Linked DNA regions of Homo sapiens: all the other regions are linked to region 1. Evidence: promoter capture Hi-C in 16 types of primary human blood cells and fetal thymus (Javierre and others, 2016). All regions are on one chromosome and are shown on one strand. Each heading gives the region's core, a stretch centred on a gene start or on the middle of the fragment in contact. The rest is flanking DNA. Distances are from core to core; before and after follow the strand shown. Region 1 holds the start of SMC2 (structural maintenance of chromosomes 2). Region 2 overlaps CT70 (cancer/testis associated transcript 70). Region 3 overlaps ABCA1 (ATP binding cassette subfamily A member 1). Region 4 overlaps LOC107987105 (a long non-coding RNA gene).

The links. The method cuts DNA at HindIII sites, captures the fragments that hold promoters and counts their contacts. A CHiCAGO score of 5 or more calls a contact.
Region 2: a fragment that was not itself captured here is called in contact with the fragment with the promoter of SMC2 in region 1 in 1 of 17 cell types (total CD8 T cells); the score reaches 5.7 in total CD8 T cells.
Region 3: a fragment that was not itself captured here is called in contact with the fragment with the promoter of SMC2 in region 1 in 2 of 17 cell types (total B cells and naive B cells); the score reaches 11.2 in total B cells.
Region 4: a fragment that was not itself captured here is called in contact with the fragment with the promoter of SMC2 in region 1 in 2 of 17 cell types (non-activated CD4 T cells and fetal thymus); the score reaches 8.9 in non-activated CD4 T cells.

Annotation. Positions count from the first base shown.
Region 1 is chr9:104,091,791-104,096,481 of GRCh38, reverse strand. SMC2 (structural maintenance of chromosomes 2) reads right to left here and starts at 2,173. Exons shown (of 25, transcript NM_006444.3): 1 at 2,005-2,173; 2 at 930-1,158; 3 at 185-334. The coding sequence starts at 1,097. SMC2-DT (SMC2 divergent transcript) reads left to right here and starts at 4,008. Exons shown (of 3, transcript NR_121580.1): 1 at 4,008-4,393. RefSeq lists enhancers at 1,553-2,220, 2,439-2,758, 2,221-2,890. The HindIII fragment of the contact is 5,032 bases long and covers 1-2,606 here.
Region 2 is chr9:104,969,790-104,974,480 of GRCh38, reverse strand. It overlaps CT70 (cancer/testis associated transcript 70), which reads left to right. Exons shown (of 4, transcript NR_184160.1): 4 at 925-1,160. Among named protein-coding and RNA genes, the nearest start is that of CT70, 20 kb to the left of the region's middle. The HindIII fragment of the contact is 2,405 bases long and covers 1,557-3,961 here.
Region 3 is chr9:104,858,676-104,863,366 of GRCh38, reverse strand. ABCA1 (ATP binding cassette subfamily A member 1) reads left to right here. Exons shown (of 50, transcript NM_005502.4): 6 at 1,567-1,688; 7 at 4,669-4,691. Among named protein-coding and RNA genes, the nearest start is that of ABCA1, 67 kb to the left of the region's middle. The HindIII fragment of the contact is 1,308 bases long and covers 1,577-2,884 here.
Region 4 is chr9:104,737,102-104,741,792 of GRCh38, reverse strand. The region is part of intron 1 of LOC107987105 (a long non-coding RNA gene); the gene reads left to right. Among named protein-coding and RNA genes, the nearest start is that of NIPSNAP3A, 8.2 kb to the left of the region's middle. The HindIII fragment of the contact is 4,028 bases long and covers 758-4,691 here.

The sequences.
Region 1 (4,691 bases), core at 924-3,423:
CTTAGTGATAGAATGTGCATGATCAAGATTTTAATATAAGGAAGACATTAAGGAATCTAGTCAGAATTTAAGGCACCAATTTTGCTCATGAACTTTCTCTAGCACGTTTTGCAAAGGCATAGGGCCAAAAACCACATCAGACATAAAAGGTCTTAAGATACCCAAAGGTTTAATTGCCACTCACCTGCCTTGTTACTGTGATTTCATCATGAACCTCAAATCCTAAAGGACTTTGCTTTTTGTCAGAATTATCAAAAGTGATTGACACAGAGGCTTTGGTAATACCAGCCTGCCCATTTTTGTAAACTAAATCTTGTAAATTAGAAGCCCGAACCTAAAATAAAATATGAAAAGTGTAACAATTACAAAACTCCCTACCGTACAAAGCAGCACTAAAAATGGGTCCCTTGCTGTTGGAAAACCCACCAACGTAGTGTCCATTAAGTAGACAAGGTTAGGCAGCTGCATCCTCTGGCAAGAAAAACAAGGAAAATAGGCAACAACCTGCAATGGACACTTTTCTCTACAGAACCTTTTCAACCCTGAATTGAATTGTTTCCTATTCATTTTTTAATAAAAAGTTACTTTGCAAGATATAAGGAAATACTGTCCCAAAGATTTTCACTAGTCATTCAATCCATTAATAGGATTTGAAAAGGCATCATTACACAGGGTTGAAAATACTCTGGAATGAGACTGCTTTACAGTCAGAATGCCTGAGTTTTGAGGCACTGTTACTTCTAAACATCTCTAAGTTTCTATTTTCTCATCTAAAGGAGTAATATTACTTTCCTTAAAAGGTTGCAGTGAGGTGTAATTTACAAAAAGTATAAAAACACAAATGAAGAGAATATCGGGACGTCTCCAAAGTTCAGTGAGGATTCTCCTGCCAACTTAAATTCAAATAAATCAGAAAGTTTACACTTTACCTGAGACAGGTTGGAGATGCCCAGCAAAAAGCAGATGGAGTCCAATATGTTGGATTTCCCACTACCATTTAAGCCAGTGATAGCATTGAAGAGGGGGTCAAAACCATTGACTTCGGTCCTCTGAGCATAGGACTTGAATCCCTCTAGAATAATTGACTTAATATGCATTTTCGATACTGTCTTGGGTCAGCAAACCTCTGACAGGAATCAAACAGGCCACAAACCAGTTCTGTACGAAACAGAAATACCACCACCTAAGTGGAATGTAAACCTGGAATCATAATGAACACGAGGCAAAAACAGCAACGATAGGGTGATAGAAATAAAACAGCCACTTGACAAACTATCTTGTCTGATGTAAAGACATCGTTCATCTACTCAAAAATATACCAGAGTTAGCCACTATCTGGAAATTAAACCATTCAACTGGGAAGTCTTAACTATTTCTTCTACCCGTTTTTCCAGGCTTGCCTTCTACTTTTATCATACTCTACCTAAACAAAGACTATGGATTATTACATATCCCATTATCTTTGCCTATAATGTGCTTTTCTCTGATACTGACATAGCTTACTCTCTACTGCACTCACGTCTTTGCTCAAATGTCACCTTACTGGAGTCCTCCCTGACCTCCCTATGTCACCTCTCCACAATCCTTCACTCGGCTTTCTTTTTCCTTCATGGTACTTAAAGCTGATATTAGACGGTCATTACTTGTCTGTAAGTTCCCGCAGTGTCTTCACCTACGTCCGTCATTGCATCCCCGAATTGTGCTTGACTCCGGGAGGAGGGGAAGTCATTTAAGTATTTACTAGAGATGAGATGTATCTCATATTCTCCAACTTCTTGCTTTTACTCAGGCTTTTACCTCGCTTCTCCAGGCCTGTCTACACCTCTTCGCCCTACTCCAAGGTCGAACAGAAGCTAGCCTTTATTTCTAAGGATCACCTAAGGTCCCTCTGCCACTGGTCCCCCTCCCTACAGCCCCCGCGCCCCGCGCCCCGCCTCCCGCCTCCCGCCTCCCGCCAGGAAGTCTGGCCCGGCCCAACCGGCCGTGCTCACGCACACGCCTCACCGCTGCCTCAGGCCAGGGGCTTGACGCACCCCAAAAGCTCCTCCGGGTCACAAAGGCAGGGAACAGAACAACTCTCTAGCCGGGGCCGCTACAAAGCGAACTTCACCATAGCGGCTACAACACCTGCCACACCGCTCTCAACACCCGCGCCGGAACTATTTATTCCTTTGAATTTCGGCGCGAGCAAAGGACCCCACCTCCATTGCTTATTTCCTGTGCTGGTGCCTAGGAGCTGCCTGTCTTTAGGGTTCAATTTTTCCCCTACACTCGAAGGATTAAAGCCGCAGGGCAATAGAATGAGAGTCTCGATAATGGTAGCTCCGGGGACTCCCCGGCAGGGGCCTGGGCACTACAGGAGCAGATAGTGTATGTTCACACCGGCGTCCGGCACTCTATGGTCAGCCCCACACCTCGGCCCCGGGTCCTCGCGCTTCGCCAGCCCCGCCCCGCCTCGGTCCCTCTAGTTCGCGTTAGGCACACTGCAGACTCCGCCTTCTCCAGTCTGCGGTGCTGGCTGTGGCTTACTTTTCTCTCCTCAAAGCGACAGTTAGGAAGTGGAGAGGCATTCTATGAGTGTTCTCGTCGGTTCTGTTTTGGAAGCTTCAGAATCTTCTCGGGTTGGCTCAGATTGCTGCAAAATAAAAGCTGTACTTCTTGGGGCCAGAGAGGCACCGTCCTTCGGGGGACTCTGGCCCGCGTCCTGGCTCCGCCCCGTACTGGCCTCGGACCTCGGGGAGCGTTTTTATCTGAAGTTTCCACGTCGGAAAGGGATCGTAGTCTACCGAGAGCTGTTCCGAGCCCAGAGGAGAAATTGTGTGGTGCTAAATAGCTATTCATCTCCCTTATACCGGAAAGCGTTGTAATGATAAGCCGACCTAACCTGTTGGGGATTTTTTCTGGAAACCTTTTAAGACAGTTCATGTTATTGAGTTCTGAATATTAGGCTATATTGCAAGGGGCTTTTTAAAATCCACGTAGCAACCCTATGAAATCAGAAATTGCCCTCGTTTTACAAATGAGTTAAATGAGACCAAGTAAAAGGTTAAACAGCTTGTCTAGTAAGCTGGGATTTGTTCCCAGGCGGTCTAGCTCCAGATTGCATGCTTTTAAATACTAGGCTTCATGCATAGAATCTAGTATTATTAGCCGATCCTATTATTAGTATGTATTGTTCTTTAGGAAGAAAAAACGTGTCAGGATTGCTCACGTTTCCAAGCACGTTGATACTTAAGAGTTAGGAAGGGCTTAACTCCGAATGGGTATGGTGTTACCCTAAGTGAGGTTCAAAAAGATGGTGTGGGCAACAATGCTATTTTGGAATGGCTTGATCCTTTTGGGCTTCCATAACAAAATATCCTAGACTGGGTAGTTTATGAACCACAGAAGTTTATTCTTCACATTTCTGAAGGCTGGAATGTCACAGAATAAGGTGTGTCTAGGGAGGGGTGCTTTCTCTTTAGTGGATAGCACCTTCTGGCTCTGTCCTCGCATGGTGGAGAGGCAGAGGCCCTCGCTTGGGCCTATTTTATAAGGACCTTAATCCCATTCCTCACTTCCCAAGATGCCACTTGCTAAAACCGTCAGTTCGGGAGTTAGGATTTCAAAATGTGCATTTTGAGGGACACATTTAGACCATAGCGTAGGTCATGTTTTTAAAGTTGCTTTCTTGGCCCTGGAATGGCAATGCAGTCATCTGAATTGGTCTTAACCTACCAGGAATGGGCTTATATTTTGAAAATATTTCTCGATAAGGGAGTAAAATAAGTTGTATGGGTTTTTTGTTTAAGAAAGGATTCCTTTGTTTACTCTGGTATGCTTATCCACTTCTGTGATGTCAACCATGGGTAGTGACCTAACATTAATTTAATTCAACAGATATCTTTGTCTGCCTTGATTCCTGCATCCCCTGGGCTCCACAGCTATTCACTTGTATTGATTCTGTTAACTCTTACACATTAACTTTGAGCTGTGTCTCCTTCCTTTTATCATTTTGTGAGTAAAGAATTTTAATTTGCCAACAAATCCTAATGTGGACTTTGTCACGTTGTGAAATAAAGTGATTTTTTGGTATGGAAATATGTGTTAAGACAGACTGTTAGTCTTTGCACTTTAACAACTAGCTGATACACTTACGTCACATGGATGAAAACATACACAAGTGCACTGTTGTTGGATAAGGACTCCTGGGTGGTTAGAAGAATGTGCAGATCTAACTACTCCCATTAAGACCATTGATTAAAATGAAAAATGCTTATAAAGGTGGAGATCTCTCAGTTTTAGTCTTATTGCGTGCCAGAAGCACTAAGGAATTGCTGCTAAATATAAGACAAATGGACTTGAGGAAATCACTGATGACTAACTTGAAACTCTGCCTCCTGAGATCACACAGGTGAGTGGAAAAAACCAAGGCACAAAGCCAGTGAAGCCCCCTAATTTGGAGATGTGAGGGGTAGAAACAGAGAGTATAGGGTAGATGCAGTGTACAGAAAACACTGTTCTTGCTTCATCACCATGGATTAAAATCGTTTGAAAGCTTCAACGCTAGCGGGCAGTGTTTCAAGCAGAAATCTGGCAGCTAGTGGAGTCTGAGTCCTTATATGGAAGGCATCATCAGTACCAGCAAGGACACACATACAGCCACAAAGCAAGACCTAGGAGAAATATTTGGTGCTCTACTCTCCTAGGGA
Region 2 (4,691 bases), core at 1,510-4,009, 880 kb before region 1:
CAAAAAGGAAGGAAAGAGGAAAAAGAGGAAGGGAGTAGAGTGAATGACTGCCCAGGCAAAAAGCCAACATGAGAATTCCCCACAACTGAGAGATTCTAATCTTGAGGATTGCTCTTCTCTATTTAGCTATGGCCAGATTACAGGAACCTTAACGTTTTGAAGTTCAAAGTGTATAGTTTTCAACTACATGTTTGCACTCAAGACTTTTATGGAGAAAAACAAGTTTTTCAATTCTTTTAAAGCCACTACCCTGAAGGGGAATGCACGGGGCTACTTTCTCATTTCTCCTCAGGGGCTGATGTGATTTTCATCTTTCTGCTATGCTTTTGGACTCTGGGGCTCATCCATACTTAGATGGCCTCATGTCCTTATTTATTTGAAAATTATATTGACTGAGCACCAACGAGTACAGAGCATTACAGCTAAAACAAATATGAAATAATGTGGTCTTTTCATGGCTGGGCACGGTGGTTCATGTCTGTAATCTTAGCACTTTGGGAGGCCAAGGTGGGTGGATCACCCGAGGTTAGGTGTTCAAGACCAGCCTGGCCAACATGGTGAAACCTTGTCTCTACTAAAACTACAAAAAATTAGCTGGGTGTGGTGGCATGTGCCTTTGGTCCCAGCTACTCGGGAGGCTGAGGCAGAAGAATCACTTGAACATGGGAGGCAGAAGTTGCAGCTGAAATTGTGCCATTGCACTCCAGCCTCAGCAACAAGAGTGAAACTCTGTCTCAAATAATAATAATAATAATGATGTGGTCTTTTCAACTTTGCCTGCCTGTATCACCCAGAGTTTGGCAACATTAATTGTGCATGAAGCAAAGTGGTGTTATTAAGAGATTCAATATGTATAGCTGTTGGGACTCTCATTGCTGGAATGGTGGCTCTGAATCACAGATACTTTCATTTTTCTCAGAACAGTTCAACTTGGAGCACCCGCTATATGCCCCACGCTGTGACAGACTCTCAGGGGACACCAAGGGAAGTAAGGCCCAGCTCCCGCCTCAAAGAGCTGACCATCAACTGGCGGGGATTAGACAATGAGAGAAGTCCAAGCTAAAGAAAGTACCACAGGAGAAACACCAGGCGCTTGAGGTTTCAAAGGAGGGAAAGGATATATCAGGTTGGAGATACTAACAAAAGACTTTATTCATTCATCCATGTATATCCAATGAAAATATTTATTGGGTGCCTACTATATACCAGGCACTAAGTTAGCTATCAGGAATAAGATATAAGTAAGCCATTATTCCTAGCCTCAAAGACTTCATAAAAAAGTAGGAGGAACACACATGTAGACAAACAATAATATTCATTAATTCATTTATTCAACATTTAATGAGTATCTATTAAGTCCCAAGCTCAAGAGTGGTGAGAAGAAAGGTCTCTGTGGTAAAGGAACCCACAGTCTAGCTCAGATGATAGGTGTATAAACAGAACATTTCTATGTAAAGTAGTGTGTTCAGTGCTGTGATAGGTATGTTAAAAAAAATTGCAAAGTCTCAAGATAGAGGGTGAAGGGCAATAAACTCTTTCTGGGGTCAGAGAAAGCTTCTGTAGAGAACACAACAGAGGGAGTATTACAGGACGAAGGAGCTTTTCAGGTAATTATAGAGAGGCAGGAGGAAGAGTATCTGAGGCAGGTTGTACCAATATGGCTGGAATAAGAAGAGTAGAGATGTACCAGAGACAGAGGGTGGCCAAATGGTGCGAGGTTTTAGAGCCCTTCAGCTGAAAGAATGGAATGTCAAGGTATAATGACCACTCAGAGGAGCAGGTAAACAACTGAGTGCAGGGTGTGGATGGAATCTCAGGGAAAGGTTCCTGGTGGAGTACATATCTGAGAGTTTTAAGTAATGTGCAGGAACTTGTTAAGAAGAAACAGCATTCCTCAGAATGGATTTTGCAGGTGAAAATAATGGAGAGAAGAAATTTCAGAGTCAACAGCTTGAGCAAAAAGCAAAGAAGCAAAAAGCCCACGTACATACAATCAGGGAGAGGTGAGAGCCTGTGAAGGCGGCTCTTCACATGTCTCTAATCTCAGTGAACTCTGTGTTTCTGCCCTGACTCTGCTCATTGTACAACATGGGGGAGGGGTCCTCCTTCCATCCCTTTCTCCTCTTCAAGGGTGACTCTTGGGTACTCAGAGTTTTATGAAATTAGGAGACCAAACTTGTTTCGTTTGTTTGTTTGTTTTTGAGACAGAGTCTTACTCTGTTGCCCAGGCTGGAGTGCAGTGGTGTGTTCTCGGCTCACTGCAATCTCTGCCTCCCGGGTTCAGGTGATTCTCATGTCTCAGCCTCCCGAGTAGATGGGATCACAGGCATGCACCACCATGCCAGGCTAATTTTTGTATTTTTAGTAGAGACAGGGTTTCACCATGTTGTCCACTCTGGTCTCGAACTCCTGACTTCAGGTGATCCAACTGCTTCAGCCTCCCAAAGAGCTGGGATTACAGGGGTGTGCCACCACACCTGGCCCAAACTTGTTTTTAAGGCCCCCAGATCAACAGTGGCTGCTACAGGCTTAAGAGTATGGCAAAAAAAAAAAAAAAAAAAAAAAGGCTCTAGGCTCCAATGCAGAAGTGACCAGGCTGAGCTCCTCCTTCCAGACTACTGACGCACACCAAAGCCCTCTGCCCTATGTTAGAGGCTGGGGATGCCAAAAAGGACCATTCCTGGTTTTTCCTTCTGGGTTTGGAATTTACTGAGAAATAAGACCAGGTCTGCCTCCTTACACACACTACTAACAAGCATCCAAATTGGGGCCGTCATTTGAGTCACCTGGGAAGTTTGCATTACATGCCTAGTCCAGGGATTCCACTATCTTGGAAGAACATTTCTGAAATTCCTTTGTTGGAATTTCATGGGGTCACAGTCAGACCCATAGACACCACCTACCCAGTTCTACTCTTCACTTCGTATGTGGGGTCACCAAGGCTCTGGAGCTTTGAAACCCACTGAGACAACATTTCCAATTGCAGGCACAGCTGAAACCTATCCTCTGCTTTCCTAAGACATGACTTTCCTTCAGAGCCACTTTACAAGCCACAGAAGAAATCCTAAGATTTCTTAGGATTCTCCTAAGAATTCCTAAGATCTCCTGAATCTATAGCAGTAGTTGTTCATTTCTTTGAATCATGGAGTCCTTGGGGAAAATCTGTTAAAGCTAAAAACAGGATCCCTCAGTAAAGAACACATACAGCCAGGTGTGGGGGCTCACGCCTGTAATCCCAGCACTTTGGGAAGCCGAGGCAGGTGGATCACTTGAGCTCAGGAGCTCAAGACCAGCCTGGGCAACATGGTGAAACCAGTCTCTACCAAAAATACAAAAATTTAGCCAGACATGGTGGTACACACCTGTGGTCCCAGCTACTTGGGAGGCTGAGCTGGGAGGATTGATCCCTTGAGCCTGGGAGGCAGAGGTTGCAGTGAGCCAAGATAATACCACTGCACTCCAACCTGGGTGACAGAGTGAGACCCTGTCTCAAAAATAAATAGACAAAAATACACATATACTTAAAAACTTCCACACACTCCAGGATGAGAACTCTTGCCCTATGTCAGCATACTAACTCCTTCCTTCAAATTTCAACAGCAGCTATTATGCAGCATGATCATCTTCCTCATACTCTAGACCTCCAGCCAAGTGACTTCTGGCTCTTCCCAACTATCAAATCCCTAAAGGAACGAGATGTTCCTGTGCTGAGGAGGTCCAAAAGAATGTGCTGTAGATTCAAAAGCCATTTCCACAAGGAGCATTCCAAGGATATTTGAAGAAATCCAGAGTCCCTGGAAAGCACAGCTTCTCCAGATGACCACCTAGAAGAGGGTAGCATCTCCGTACCTGTGCTGGTTGGCTCTTAAATAATCAGTCCCTTTCCCAGGCAAGGCTCATGGGGAGCCTTTGGTGTGATAACTTCTTATATGCTAATACAATAATGGACAATTCCAAAGCTTAGCAGAGAGCCCCCATTAGCAGATACTGCCTTCTCCATTCAGGTTTTTGGAACCACGCCAGGCAGTTATGTGCATCTGCCTTCCTGTTCCAAACTTTGTATAAACATGTACCTCTATTTTCTTCTTCTTTTTTTTTTTTTTTTGGTGGCGGGGGGTACGGAGTCTCACTCTGTCACCAGGTTGTAGTGGAGCGATCTCGGCTCACTGCAACCTCCACCTCCCAAGTTCAAGCGATTCTCCTGCCTCAGCCTGCCGAGTAGCTGGGACTACAGGCATGTGCCACCATGCCCAGCTAATTTTGTATTTTTAGTAGAGACAGGGTTTCACCATGTTGGCCAGGATGGTCTCCATCTCTTGACCTCATGATCTGCCCGCCTCGGCCTCCCAAAGTGCTGGGATTACAAGTGTGAGCCACTGTGCCCAGCCTACCTCTATTTTCATCTCCACCTCTCCCAACAGACTCTGGGCACAGACATGAAGGTCAGACACTGGACTCATGCATTCATCATTTATATGTCTATTTGACATGTATGAAAAGGCCACTATATGTTAGCACTGCTAATACAATGGTGAACAAAATAGTGCTGCAGCTTCTCAAGCAAGGCAGGCAGGCCAGGTAGGGTGGCTCGTGTCTGTAATTCCAGAACTTTGGGACGTTGAAGCAGGAGGATCACTTGAGCCCAGAAGTTTGAAATCAGCCTGAGTAACATTGTGAGACCTCCTCTAAAT
Region 3 (4,691 bases), core at 981-3,480, 770 kb before region 1:
AGCTGGTTTTATCTTTATTACAAAGAAGTTAGGCTGTTAGGAGAGTGGGTTGGAAGGAGAAGAGGTAGACAGCCAAATGAGATGAGTCAGGGAAAACTATACTGTTTCGGAGTCATAGGGCTCCTACCAAGCATCTGGTCAGAAACCTCTCATTTTGGAGATCAAGAAATTGAGGTTCAGAAAGATGACATGAGGTACGCAGGGACGCCACCAGACACAGCCTCCAACTCTAGAAACTAAAATTCTGGATTCTTAGTGCTGCTTTTTCTGTTTTGTTGCACTGGATTGAAGCCTTTTCTAACTGTACTCAGAGGGCCTATTATTTAGGGAGATTCCGTATGAAATCCTTTAGCAATCAAATCATTTAATAGGGCTGATGGTTTAAATATATGTTAATGTGTTTTCCTAAAGCCTGGCAGACCTGGGTTTTGGAGCTTTGTATCACATGTTTTATGTTTGGAATGAAAATGAGACCATGTCTGTGAAGGCACTTTGATATGCGTAATGCACTCTGCCAGTGTTTGTCAAAACATGGTCCCCAGGTCAGCAGCATCAGCATCACCTGTAAGTGATTCTCCAGTCGCATCCCAGGGCCGCTGTATCAGAAACTCTGGGGGTGGGGGTGGGGGTGGGGGTGGGGGTGGGGGTGGGGGTGGGGGTGGGGGCCGGCCCGGCCCGGCCCGGCCCGGCCCGGCCCGGCCCGGCCCGGCCCGGCCCGGCCCGGCCCGGCCCGGCAGTCTGCATTTTAACAAGCTCTCCAGGTGATTCTGATGCATACTTAAGTTTGAGAACCATTGCTTGTTTTGCATTAAACAGGAGATTAGTCTCTGCAGCTTGTGGGAATAAAGCTTTAAATCTCTCCAATTTTAGCTCTGTGAAAAGGCAGTGGGGAGACAGGAATGAACGGACTAGTGCCACAAAGCTCAGGTGGGGTGGGTGAGATCATTTAGAAGAGAAAGACCGGGCATGGTGGCTCACGCCTGTACTGTCAGCACTTTGGGAGGCCAAGGCAGGTTGGATCACAAGGTCAGGAGTTTGAGACCAGCCTGCCTATCATGGTGAAACCCTGTCTGTACTAAAGATAAAAAAAAAAAAATTTGCCAGTCATGGTGATGCATACCTGTAATCCCAGCTACTCGGGAGGCTGAGGCAGGAGAATCTCTTGAACCCGGGAGGCGGGGGTTGCAGTGAGCTGAGATTCCACCATTGCACTCCAACCTAGGTGACAGGGTGAGACTCCGTCTCAAAATAAAAAAAAAAAAAGAAAAGGAAAGGCTGTGTGTGTGTGTATGTGTGTGTGTGTGTGTGTGTGTGTGTAACAGCACCATCACACTGTTTGAGTTGAGGAGCACATGCTGAGTGTGGCTCAACATGTTACCAGAAAGCAATATTTTCATGCCTCTCCTGATATGGCGATGCTCCCCTATCTCATTCCTGTGTGTGTTTAGCCAGGCAACTGTTGATCATCAATATTATGATAACGTTTCTCCACTGTCCCATTGTGCCCACTTTTTTTTTTTTTTTGAGTTACTTACTAAATAAAAATAAAACACTATTTCTCAATAGACTTGAAGCTTCAAGATTTCCTGGTGGACAATGAAACCTTCTCTGGGTTCCTGTATCACAACCTCTCTCTCCCAAAGTCTACTGTGGACAAGATGCTGAGGGCTGATGTCATTCTCCACAAGGTAAGCTGATGCCTCCAGCTTCCTCAGTAGGGCTGATGGCAATTACGTTGTGCAGCTACTGGAAAGAAATGAATAAACCCTTGTCCTTGTAATGGTGGTGAAGGGGAGGGAGGTAGTTTGAATACAACTTCACTTAATTTTACTTCCCTATTCAGGCAGGAATTGCCAAACCATCCAGGAGTGGAATATGCAACCTGGCGTCATGGGCCAGCTGGTTAAAATAAAATTGATTTCTGGCTTATCACTTGGCATTTGTGATGATTTCCTCCTACAAGGGATACATTTTAAGTTGAGTTAAACTTAAAAAATATTCACAGTTCTGAGGCAATAACCGTGGTTAAGGGTTATTGATCTGGAGGAGCTCTGTCTAAAAAATTGAGGACAGGAGACTTTAGACAAGGGTGTATTTGGAGACTTTTAAGAATTTTATAAAATAAGGGCTGGACGCAGTGGCACTGAGTTGAGAACTGTTGCTTGCTTTGCATTAAATAGGAGATCAGTCCCTGCAGCTTGTGGGAATAAGGCTTTAAATCTCTCCAATTTTAGCTCTGTGAGATGGCACTGGGGAAACAGAAATGAACGGACTAGTGTCACAAAGCTCAGGTGGGATGGACGAGATCACTTCAAAGGTCTGTAATCCCACGTCTATAATCCCAGCACTTTGGGAGGCCAAGGCGGGAAAATCACTTGAGGTCAGGAGTTCGAGACCATCCTGGCCAACATGGCAAAGCCTGTCTCTACTAAAAATATGAAAATTAGCTCAGCGTGGTGGCATGCTCCTGTAGTCCCAGCTACTCGTGAGGCTGAGACAGGAGAATCGTTTGAACCTGGGAGGCGGAGGTTGCAGTGAGCCAATATCACGCCATTGCACTCCAGCCTGGCTGACAGAGTGAGACTCCATCTCAAAAAAAAAAAAAAAAAAAGAATTTTATAAAATCAGGAAATAATATTAGTGTTTATGTTGAATTTTAACTTTAGAATCATAGAAAACTTCCTCTGGCATCATTATTAGACAGCTCTTGTGCAGTGGGTAGCACCAGACCCAGCTTGCATGGTTATTGATTTTTCAGAGACACTTTTTGAGCTTATTCTCTGGCAGAAAGGGGAACTGCTTCCTCCCCTATCTCGTGTCTGCATACTAGCTTGTCTTTACAAGAAGCAGAAGTAGTGGAAATGTTTATTCTTGAAAATAAGCTTTTTGCTTCACATGATCTAGAATTTTTAAAATTAGAAAAATGTGCTTACTGCGTGCCCTTCTGAAACTAGGAAAATATGCCTTGTGTTTACCAATTGTGTGGTTAGGAGATGGGCCAAAGGCATCAGGCTTTTGAAAGTAGTTGCATTTAGCATAATTTCCATTGCCCCCTGCCAATTTCATATCTGTCACATCTAATCAGTTTAAAATAAGGGGCATCCTAAGCATGGAGATGGTCCTTGGATGGTCCTTGGAGTTTCTGTATTTTCAGTATTCTTTTTTTTGAGCATACAAGACATTTATTGAAAAATTCTTGGGATCAATACTTGTGTAAGGAAAGGAAAGGGAACAAAGCATGATTGGGCAGAGGCAGAAGATGACATCAACAAAGGCCCTCCGTTGTCAGTATTCTTTTTTTTTTTTTTTTTTTGAGTTGGAGTCTCGCTCTGTCACCCAGGCTGGAGTGCAGTGGCGTGATCTCAGCTCACTACAACCTCTGCCTCCCAGGTTCAAGTGATTCTCTGCTTCAGCCTCCTGAGTAGCTGGGATTACAGGCATGCACCACCACACCTGGCTAATTGTTGTATTTTTAGTAGAGACGGGGTTTCACCATGTTGGTTGGCCAGACTGGTCTTGAACTCCTGACCTCAGGTGATCCGTCTGCCTTGGCCTCCCAAAGTGTTGGAATTACAGACATGACCCACTGCACCCGGCCTGTTGTCAGTATTCTTAAACATAGACACTAACTGTAGGCTGACAGCCTAGCAGCAAGGACCAGTTAAAGAAATGAGTAGAACTGAAGTGTGCTTGAGTATCTCTGGCAGTCAGCAAAAACTTAATGGGAATCATGGTAGGCCAAATGTTCTGCAGTATTTCAAAAGCTGCATGGGTTTTGAGAGGCTTTTGGTCCATCACTCACCTTAGGTTGTTCTACAAGCACATCAGCCTGCCCCAATTTAAACAGGGCAGTTAGTAATGGTGTAATAAAGAGTCTGCATTGTTCATTCCTTCAACAAATACTGGCTATAATGTTTCAGCACTGTGGATGCAAAGTGAGCAGGATAAACAGGCTCTTCTTTCAAAGCTTGTGGTCCACTGGACCACGTATGAAGTAGAATAGTTTAGGTCCAGAAAGGCAATTAAGTAAAATATGACCAAGAAGAGGCTCTCTAGTGGGTTTGGTATAAAGAAAAGATAAGAATGATTTAGAATTGGCCTATCAATGAGATAAGAGGCCTGGCTTTCTGGCACTCTGCTCTAGGGCAAGTAAAATGGAGAATTCCAAATTCTGAAATTGTTAGAACATAGTTCTGTGTCTTAGTTAAATATCTACACTTACAGATAAATAGCATAAATGCTTTCTCCCCATATTTCAGCCCAGTCCTACTTAAAGACAACATAAATTGCAAAATAGTGAGGATGTTGTTCATCTAATAAAAGTGGTTCCAGGAATTCAGACTCTGGATTCCTGTTTGCCAAATCATGTGTCCCACTCTTAAGAAAACGAGTTGGACTCTGGATTTTTCTTTGCAAGAGGGACAAGAGTGTGGGAGATACTGAGTTAATGCAACTTGCAGGTTTTAAGTGTCCTGTCATTGTGCCTTGTGCTTTGATACATTCTGAGTTTCAGTAAAGAGACCTGATGCATTGGACTGTTGCAATGGAACCTGTTTTAAGATCTTCAAAGCTGTATTGATATGAAGTTCTCCAAAAGACTTCAAGGACCCAGCTTCCAATCTTCATAATCCTCTTGTGCTTGTCTCTCTTTGCATGAAATGCTTCCAGGTATTTTTGCAAGGCTACCAGTT
Region 4 (4,691 bases), core at 1,522-4,021, 640 kb before region 1:
GGGTACTTCAGTATAAGTCCTGTTTCATATTATTTTTTATTAAAAATCAGTTGGTCTTGCCAGGTGCTGTGGCTCACGCCTGTAATCCCAGCACTTTGGGAGGCAGACTGGCAGATCACTTGAGGTCAGGAGTTCAAGACTAGCCTGGCCAACATGGTGAAACCTTGTGTCTCCACTAAAAATACAAAAATTAGCCAGGTGTGGTGGCAGGCACCTGTAATCCCAGCTACTTGGGAGGCTGAAGCAGGAGAAGTGCTTGAACCCAGGAGGTGGAGGTTGCAGTGGCCCAAGTATGCACCACTGCACTCCAGCCTGGGTGAGAGTTTCAAAAACAAACAAAAACATTTGGTCCTTTGCCTCTTTGTTGTTTTTTGTTTGTTTTCTCTTCTTTGTTTTTGGAATGAAGCATATTTGTTAATTTATATTACTAAAGTCTCCTTTATAATTACCTGTTTATTGAGAACTGAACCCTCTTTGGTTAGTTCTCATACCTACTTGGCTGCCCTTTCATTTTTTAAAGGTTTTAAGAAATATTTACTTAATCTCAGATCACTTGTTCGGTTCTCATCCCTTTTTTTCTCAGAGAATGTCAGTGATGCCTATTTACCGACAAGGGGTCATCAGATTTTATTATTTCTGATATTTCTTACATGCTGTTATGTAGTATACCTTTTACTTAAGTCCTTTCTTACTTTCATTTCACTCTGTAAAGCTGATATTTACATTTTAGACTAAAACACACAGCAAAGAGGAAGCTTAAAGAAGTTAGGTGGTTTGCCAAAGGTAACAAAATAAGCCATTTAGAGCTGGTTGGCTCATTTTAATTGCTCTCTTACAATCCAATATTTGAGCATATTGTAACTTTGTTCCTCTTTCTCTTTTGATACTTAAATATTCCCAGGTTTATAAATAATGCTTCAATGAGTAATTTTGTAGATATGTCCTTAGGCACATCCCTGTAAGTGGAATTAATGAGTCAACTTTACAATTTTTGGTTCACCATAGCCATTTATGCTCCCAGGCAGTGAATCGTATTTCCTCTTCCTGCACATTCTTGCAATTCTTGTAAGACTTTAATATTTGCATATCTTATGGATGAAAAATGTTTCATTGATTTCATTTATATTGCTCTGATTTCTTGTGAATTGAGAATCTTTTCATAATTTTATAGGCCATGTTGTTTTTCTTTTGTTGAGGTCCCTGTTTATATTCTTGGCCCAATTTTTTATTTTGTTGTTCATCTTTTTCATATTGATTTGAATGTTGCAATCCTGTCCCCTCAGCCTCGCAAGGTGTGGCTGGGATTAGAGGTGCACAACCATGCCTGGCTTGGTTTGAATGCTTTAAAAAATATATATATATATTCCGGCCGGGCGTGGTGGCTCATGCCTGTAATCCCATCACCCAAAAGTGATGGGAGGCCGAGACAGGTGGATCATGAGGTCAGGAGGTCAAGACCAGCCTGGCCAAGATGCTGAAACCCTGTCTCTACTAAAAATACAAAAAAATTAGCTGGGCATGGTGGCACATGCCTGTAATCCCAGCTACTTGGGAGGCTGAGGCAGGAGAATCGCTTGAACCCTGGGCGGCAGAGGTTGCAGTGAGCAGAGATTGTGCCACTGCACTCCAGCCTGGGCGACAGAGCAAGACTCCATCTCAAAACAAACAAAACAAAAACTTCCAGACTAATCTTTTTTTTGGATGTATGTTTTACTGATATGTTCTCCCATTTGTAGCTATTATTTAAACTTTCTAAGAGTATTTTGCCATATAGGTGTTTCTAAATTTAAATTATTGGTCTCATGTTTTTGTGCTTTTCCCCCTATTTAAGGTATACTTTCTTTTTCCTTGTGCATGATGATATTCTTGTATATTTTCCTGTAGATATTTTTACAGTTTTGCTTTTGCCCTTTAGGTATTTAATCTCTCTCAAGTTTATTTTAGTCACAGTATGAGGTGTAGATTTAATTTGATCTTTTTTTCAATATTAGTAGTCCATTACCAAAGAACAGTTTATTAAATAGTTCATTTGTTCCCTACCGATTTGTAATGCCATTATAAATCAAAGACCATTCACTTGGGATATAAACTTCCACAGATGCCTAGGCTATTTCTGGATCCTTCTAATCTGTTCCATTGATTAATTTGTCTTTACCTGTATCAGTACTAAGCAATTTGAATTACTGTAGCTTTATTATCCATCTTGACATTTTGTATAGTAAATATACATTTCTTATTATAACATTGTCTTGGCTATTCTTTGTCTTTGCTATTCAGTATGAATTTTTGGATAAGTTTGAGAAACTAAAAAAAATCTCAGTATCATTTTGATGGAAATTATATTAGATTTACAGAGAAATTCTGAATAAATTCATATATTTATTCTTGAATTTCCTAACATGAACAAAATTTGTGTCCCCAGTTTTTGGGAGGTTTTTCTGTGTGCTTTAATGACGATTTATATTTTTCCTCAAAAATTCCTTATGCAGTTTTTATTCATTGGCATTTTATAGTTTTTGTGATGTCATGAGATGCACTTCAAAGTATATTCTCTAACCAGTTGTGTTTCCTGCAGAAAATACTATTGAGTTGATCTTGTGGTTGGCAGCCTTGCTAAAGCCTTTTAGTAGTTTACATTTTAAGATTTTCTAATGGATTTTTTTCTGACTTCCTACAGAGATAATCTTATTTTTAGGCAATAATGACAATTTTGTTTCTCCCTTTTCAATCTTTACGACTCCTTTTCCTTCCTTTATCCCTCCTGCCCTTCCTTCTTTCCTTCCTTTCTTCCCATTTTTCTCTTTTTCTTTCTCCCCTCTTTCCTCTTTCCCTTCCCGATTTTTATTTCTCCCACTGCCCCCTTCTCTCTTTATTGTCGTACATAGGACCTCTGTGCAATGTTGACTATAAGAGGTGAAAACAGGCCTGGCACAGTGGCTCAGACTTCTAATTCCAGCCCTTTGAGAGGCCAGAGGGGGACGACCACTTGAGGCCAGGAGTTGAAGACCAGCCTGGGCAACACAGAGAGAACCCTGTCTCAAAAACAAACAAACAAACAAACAAAAAATTAGCATGTACTTCATAGCTACTCAAGAGACTAAGGTGGGAGGATCACTTGAGCCCAGGAGGTCAAGGTTACAATGAGGCAGGATCACTCCACTGTAGTCCAGCCTTGGTGACAGAGCAAGACCGTTTCTCTGCGGGGGATAAAAAAGTGAAAGCCAGCATTCTTATCTTGTTTGTAAACTTAAAGGGGATTTGTCAATTGTAAGTTTTGATAAATACCCCTTATATCAGTTTTAAAAGTTTGCTTGTTTGTAGTTTGCTAAGTTATTTATTTTAAATTATGAGTGCCTATTAAATTTTATCAAAAGATCTTTTGCATTTAATGAAATGATAATTTTTAAAATCTGTTAATTGAAATTATAGTGAATTACATTAAAATATTTTCAATGTTATGACTTCCTTGCATCGTTTGAATAAACCTTACCCGAAAGTTAGGTATTATTATTTTCTACATTGCTAGATTCTGTTTGCTAGTATTTTATATTTTCCTGTCTATGTTTATAAGTGAGATTGGCTCTTAAGTTTTCCTTTCTCATATTTTCCCTGTTCAGTTTTTGTTTCAGGGCTGTACATACAGGCTTACAAAAAGAGTTGGGGGAGCTTCCCATTCCCTTTTTAAATATTTTATGAACCAATTTATATATCAGGGGTTACCTGTTCTTGGAAAATGTGTTAGAATTATCCAGGGAAATTATTTGGGCCTGGTAAATAAAAAAATATATATATATATATATATAAAATATATTTTATTATGGTAAAATACAGATAACATACAATTTACCATCTTAACCATTTTTAAGTGTACAGTTCAGTGGTATTAAATATATTCATAATGTTGTGCAAGCATCACCACCATCCATCTCCAGAACTCTTTTCTTTCTTTTTTTTTTTTTTTTTGAGCTGTCACCCAGGCTGGAGTGCAGTGGCACCATCTTGGCTCACTGCTACCTCTACTTCCTGAGTTCAAGCTACTCTCTTGCTTCAGCCTTCTGAGTAGCTGGGATTACAGGCACCCGTCATCATGCCCGGCTAATTTTTGTATTTTTACAGAGACGGGGTTTCACCATCTTGGCCAGGCTGGTCTTAAACTCCTGACCTCAGGTGATCCACCTGCCTTGGCCTCCCAAAGTGCTGGGATTATAGGTGTGAGCCACCACATCCAGCCTTCATAACTCTTTTCATCTTGTAAAACTGAAACTCCGTGCCCATTAAATAATAATTCCCCATTCTCCCCTTCCCCCAGCCACTGGCAACTACCCTTCTACTTTCTGTATCTATGATTTTGATGACTCTAACTACCTCATATTAGTGGAATCATACAGTATTTATCTTTTTGTGACTGGCTTATTCAATATGATGTCCTCAGTGCTTTACCATGTTATAGCATGTGTTAGAATTTGCTTCCTTTTTAAGGCTGAATAATATTTTATTTATGTATATACCACATTTTGCATATCCATTCATTCATCAATGGACACTGAGTTGCTTCCATGTTTTAACTATTGCTTGTTGGCCATTTGTGTTTCTTCTTTTGAGAATTGTCTATTCATGTCCTTTGCCCACTTTTTGATGGAATTGTTTGTTTTTCTTGCTGATTTGTTTGAGTTCTTTGTAGATTCTGGATA